2 separate regions of the Homo sapiens genome follow, and region 1 is linked to region 2. Evidence: promoter capture Hi-C in 16 types of primary human blood cells and fetal thymus (Javierre and others, 2016). All regions are on one chromosome and are shown on one strand. Each heading gives the region's core, a stretch centred on a gene start or on the middle of the fragment in contact. The rest is flanking DNA. Distances are from core to core; before and after follow the strand shown.

What was found. The method cuts DNA at HindIII sites, captures the fragments that hold promoters and counts their contacts. A CHiCAGO score of 5 or more calls a contact.
Region 1: a fragment that was not itself captured here is called in contact with the fragment with the promoter of DES in region 2 in 3 of 17 cell types (M2 macrophages, M0 macrophages and erythroblasts); the score reaches 6.6 in M2 macrophages.

What each region holds. Positions count from the first base shown.
Region 1 is chr2:219,681,139-219,684,056 of GRCh38, reverse strand. It overlaps the pseudogene DNAJB6P3. Among named protein-coding and RNA genes, the nearest start is that of LINC02832, 47 kb to the left of the region's middle. RefSeq lists an enhancer at 1-46. The HindIII fragment of the contact is 630 bases long and covers 962-1,591 here.
Region 2 is chr2:219,417,076-219,419,799 of GRCh38, reverse strand. DES (desmin) reads right to left here and starts at 1,423. Exons shown (of 9, transcript NM_001927.4): 1 at 760-1,423. The coding sequence starts at 1,337. RefSeq lists a promoter at 1,348-1,652, a silencer at 1,653-2,128, enhancers at 2,129-2,285, 2,286-2,404, 2,129-2,404 and cis regulatory regions at 2,325-2,331, 1,348-2,404. The HindIII fragment of the contact is 3,605 bases long and covers 1-2,128 here.

The sequences.
Region 1 (2,918 bases), core at 27-2,526, 260 kb before region 2:
CAGCAGCTGAGCTTGGATAACAAGCAATTCAATGCACACATTTAACAGAAATGTTCAACTACAACAAGCACCATTTGAAGATTAACAGGAACAATTTTTTGACGATTTCAAACAAACTTGCCTTTCAGTATAGTTGCACCTAATCTAAAGTATTTAAAAACAGCTCATCAGAGCCCCTATTTGTCATAGACTTTTGAGTTTATTTGAGACTGTATTAGTCCGTTTTCATGCTACTGATAAAGACTTACCTGAGACTGGGCAATTTACAAAAGAAAGAAAAAAAAGAGGTTTAATTGGACTTACAGTTCCATGTGGCTGAGGAAGCCTCACAATCATGGTGGAAGTCAAGGAGGAGCAAGTCACATCTTACATGGAAGGTAGGCAAAGAGAGAGAGAGCTTGTGCAGGGAGACCCCTGTTTTTAAAACCATCAGATCTCATGAGTTCCATTCACTATCACAAGAACAGCACAGGAAAGACCTGCCCTCATGATTCAATCATCTCCCAGCAGGTCCCTCCCACAACATGTGGGAATTATGGGAGCTAAAAGATGAGATTTCGGTGGGGACACAGAGCCAAACCATAACAGAGACCATTTTTTTTTGGTCTTTAAAATTGTTGTAAATCTCTGTTTGCACTTTGCTTTTTTATTAAACTTACTCCAAGGTGAGCCTTGACTCTTTAGTGGTAGGACAAGATCATACACTGATACCAGCATGGACCTGCTTTTCCGTTGTGTCTGAAATGTGAGTCAAGTAGTATCAGCCTGCTATGACATTAACATTGCCAGGATGAATCTCTTACAGAAATCATTTCGATTTTATTCGGTATTTAGTAGTGAAAGATATTCATGCTTTAATGGTAATACTTTCTGATTTAATACACATTAAGGATGTTTTTCAATTGTGCATGAATGCTGATGACTTCGTTTTGACAATTGTTTATGTATGTCATGTTAAGCTTAGGTTTAAAAAAGTAAAGCCAGTAAACTGGGTCTTTATTATTTGCTTTAAAAAACGAAAATAAATGTGAATGCGTTTGATGCATTAAAAACAAACAAAAAAGAAGTCCAACCTTCTCGTTCCACACACGTTCCTAAGCTGGAAGAATGTGGGTCTGACACGACTACTGGTCATCCTATCTGCTGCTCAAAGGCAGCTCTTCAAGGACAAAGGCAGAAAGAAGAGCTGAAAAGGCAACAAACTCCCAACGATAAAATGTATGTTCTTGGATACAAACATGTCTGAAGTGAGTCCAGCCTTGGGCTTCCCAATCACACGAGTATTTGTTGTTCACTCAGGCTTGGGTTTCATTTCTGCAACCTGCTCACCTCTTTTCCCCAGCGGTTCTTGCTTCCCACATCAGCCTCTGCCCACGCCATGGCTTACTCTCCTCCCATCTCTACATATTTAACCCTGAAGTCTTTTAAGTCTCCACTCAAATGCCACGACCTCCCCCATGAAGTCTTTCCTTACCTCTCCTGTGCCAACTCCCCTGTCCCACCTGGACAGCCCCCTGACACTTAATCTGTACTTTTCCGTGTCTGTATCAGGATTACATTGAGCCTCAGGGCACACAAAACTACAGAAGCTTAGATAAATAGGGATTTCTTTTCCTCACATAAGAGGTCGTCTCATGGAAGGCAGCTGCCAACTTTGCTTTGGGGGCCTGACAATATCAGGGACAGCATCTCCACAGTGGCCTTTATCTGGTACAGTCCCCAGATGGACTTGGAAGACCCAGTTCCTAGCCCCTTCCTTTCTGCATGTAGTTCTCAGGATAACTTTAGAATGTGCTGGAATGCAACATCCTGAGATAGGACTGCCTGAAAGAGCTTGGCTCTTTTCCTGTTTCTCCTGGGGAATGTAAGATCTTGAGTTAGAGGGAACTGTTCAGGACAGCCCACACTTTGTTCCTCTCTTCCCTGGAAGTAGGATGTCCTTCCGAGCTTTGCTCGGTGAGTCATGGAGCCCCTGAGGCTTTTAACTGGAAATGAGCTATCTTTTAGGGGCCCTCAGCTGCCATGAAAGTAGGGCACAAGCAGTGGAAACTCCATCCACCCTGGGCAGCTTTCTTGAACACATTCACACTCCTTAGGGGACTGGCTCACAGTGGCTCCCAGTCTTCTTTGTCCCTTGCTGACTATTGCTGAGTAATAAATCCATTTCCTGTAACTTGTTGCATGTGAGTCTGTTCTATCTCACGGGACTCAGGCAATTGGTAAAACTACAGCCCGCAATGCAATGGGCAGAAGTGTTCAGAATCCTAGTCATGGTGGTTGGCATAGTGATAGTCTTTGCCGTCCTCCAAGCACTGGGGGTCCTCTCTTGTGACTGGTTATTGGTGAACCCGTTTCTCAGCCTCACGGTTGCAAGATGGCTGCCACACATCCAGGCATCATATTTGCTTTCCAGGCAAGAATAAAGGAGAAGTAGGAGGACCAGTTGCTTCCTCCTTTTTAATCCGGAGAACAGAAGTTTTCCTGGAACCCACTAGCAGACTTCCACTTAAAATTCATGACCCCAAACCACATCATCACTGACTAGTTGCAACAGAGGGCAGGAAATGAGGATTTAAGTCCCCTAGAGTAGACAAGGAAAATAAGAAGGAGATAGGGAACGGCTATTAGGTCAGCCTAAGAATAGTCACTGCCCTGCTTGCTCAAGGCCCTGGTCACAGTTGTATCTTTTATTACAGTTTTTTGCTTACTAAAATCTGAGCTCCCTCTGGGAAGGGGCTGAGTTCTCAATCACTACACCCTTCAGAGAGCCCAGCACATGAGACTTTGATAAATCTATGCCTGGTGACTGTGGCGCTGCTACTTGCTCATGTTCATGGGGCCTCCTGGCAGTTTGAGCAGATTGTGGCTGCAGTGGGGTAATTAAATGTGCATCCTTCTTTGATCTCTAAGCTCTCCTG
Region 2 (2,724 bases), core at 174-2,673:
CAGCTCCAGCCTGGCCAATATAGCTGCTCAATTAATATTTATGACTTTGGTGGCAGGAGGGTGACTGTGCTCACTTGGCCTGTCAGAAGTGGGACCAACAAATATGCTACACTTGCTGCCCTTTTCGTTCTTGGAGCCTGGTGAAGTCTACAGTCAGGTCCTCCCAAGCTCTCTGAGAGCTGTGACCCCCACCTACTCCCTTTTTCTCCAGCCTGTCCATTCACCTTGTAAAAAGACACAGTCTCGGCAAGGCCCCAGGGCCAAGCTCCCCCCTCCCCCCACCTCCCCCAGGGCCTCATCACAGCTGAGCTGAGAGCTGTTGCTTGGACTCTGGGCCCTTGCCCTGCTTTCCCTGTCTCCTATCAGCCTCCCTTCTCCCTCTGGCTACACTGCCCTCTGGGCCTCCTGCAGCCCTTCCTCTGCCCATCAACTACCTGACCCCATAAATATCGCCCCAGCATCTTAAAATGCTTTTTAACGGGGCTGTCCACAGGGCACCGGGTCCCCTAAATTCTCCCATATCCACCCCCTGATCTATGTCCCCAAGAAAACTCCTGTGCAAGATGGGATCGCAGGGGGAGAGACCTGGAGGTCACGGCCCCTTGAAACACACAGGTGGAGGACCCTTTCTCCACATGGGGCAGGAGAGGGTCCCGGGCCCCGGGAGAAGGCAGGTGCTGACAGCGGGACCCCAGACCCCAGGCCTAGCCTCCTGTGCCCTGCCCGCAGAAAGAGGAGTCTGGGGTGCCGGGCCCTCACTTGGCCTTGAGCCGCTGCAGGTCGTCGAGCAGGTTGTCGCGCTCGACGTCGACGCGCGCGCGCTGGTTAGTGAGCACCTCCACCTGGCGCCGCAGCTCCCGCAGCTCCTCCTCGTAGAGCTCGGCCACTCGCGTCGGCTCGCGGCCCTTGAGCCGGTTCACTTCGGCGGCGAGCGCCGCGTTCTGCTGCTCCAGGAAGCGCACCTTCTCGATGTAGTTGGCGAAGCGGTCATTGAGCTCCTGCAGCTCCACCTTCTCGTTGGTGCGCGTGGTCAGAAACTCCTGGTTCACCGCGTCGGCCAGTGAGAAGTCCAGCAGCTCGCCTGCGCCGTAGGAGGAGGGCGTGCGGGTGGTCCCCAGCCGGCTGGCCCGCAGCGACCCCAGGCCCCCGGCCCCGCCCGACGTGCGCGACACCTGGTACACGCGGGACGTCACCGAGCTGGAGGAGCCCTTAGAGCCGAAACCCGCCCGCGGGAACACGGGCGAACTCAGCGGGGAGCCGAGTGGGAAGCCCGGGGCCCCGCCGAAGGTGCGGCGGTAGGAGGACACGCGCTGGCTGGACGAGTAGGCCTGGCTCATGGTGACGGCGCGGGCGAGGCTGGCGGGCGCACGGAGGAGGCGGCGGGCAGGCGGCCGGCCGGAGAGTGGATGCGGCGAGGGGAGACAGGGCCCCCAGCCGTCGGCACTATTTGTATCCCTCCTGACATCAGCCCCCGCCTCCCCTCCCCTGACAGCTGCAAGATCCCGCTGTCCTGCCAGGAAAGGGCGGCCCGTGGCCGTGGGGGCGGGGAGGCCAGCTCCCCCGCAAGAGGCCTGCGCCCCTGAGTCAGCCAGCGGGGGTCCTGTGACGGGCAAGCCTGCCAATCCTTCGCCAGGGCAGGCAGCAAGCATGTCTGCAGCCCCCAGGCGGGCCTCTTTCAGCCCTGGTTATCTCCTCGTCCTGGGGTGGGGGGGAGTGGGGTCAGGGGAGACAGCAGAAGAGAGGCTTCCCTTTAGTTTGAGGGTCCCCTTTTTGGTCAAGGAGAGACTTTGGGTCATTTCTTAAAGGGTCAAGGCCTGTTCCCAGGAAAGGCCCTAAACCACCTTGTTCCTAAATATTCTCTTGAAGTCGAAGAGGTTTGGGTCTCAGGCAAAGACCAGCCAGGCTTGAGGGTGGGGGTCTCTAGGCAGGAAGGGAGGGCAGGGAGACGCCTGGCAGGCGGAGGGATCCTGGCCAAAGCCTGCCTGCCATGTATGTCTATGGGCGAGCTAGCCCTGAGCCTCAGTTTCCCTCTGGACTAGTGCAGGCCCTCTTCCTCCCCGGTACTGTCGAGGGTGGGGCCTCAAGTTTATAAACAGTGGGCTGATTTCCAGAAAGGGTCTGATAAGCTTTCAGTTTCCAATTGCTATGTGCGCTCCCACCCCCGCACAGACTTTGTGTGGCTCCTGCCCCCTGGGTCCCCCGCCCCCTCCCTGATTCATCCCCCTACTCACACCACCCACGCCCACACACACCAGGGGTTTGTGTTTTGTCAGGAGCCGCATGTCAACCCAACCATCTCCCTGGCAGCAACAGCTGCCAACCCCAAATACCAGAGCGGGTATTTATAGAGGAGAACGCATGGCTGGGAAACAAGGCACAGGAGAGGAGCTGTGGGGGGCAGGGGGTACCTGAGGAGGCATGGGTGGGCGTCAGATAAGGAAGGCTAGGGTGACAGCCCCAATCACTTCCCACCCCCTATAATGCTCCAGCCCCCACCCCCACAAAAATGGAGCCCCACAGAGGGCCTGCCCAACCTCCAAAGCCCCCTCCTTAGCACACGGCACTTGCTAACCCCTAAGGACATCCACCATTCTCCATGGGTACTGGCCGTGCCTCTACACCTCCACTTGGCACTCCAGGTCCCTCTTGGACCTGACCCTTTTGGAATGCAAACCCTGAAAATAGAGTGCTCGATTAGGAGCCAGTCACTGGTCCTACCCTAGA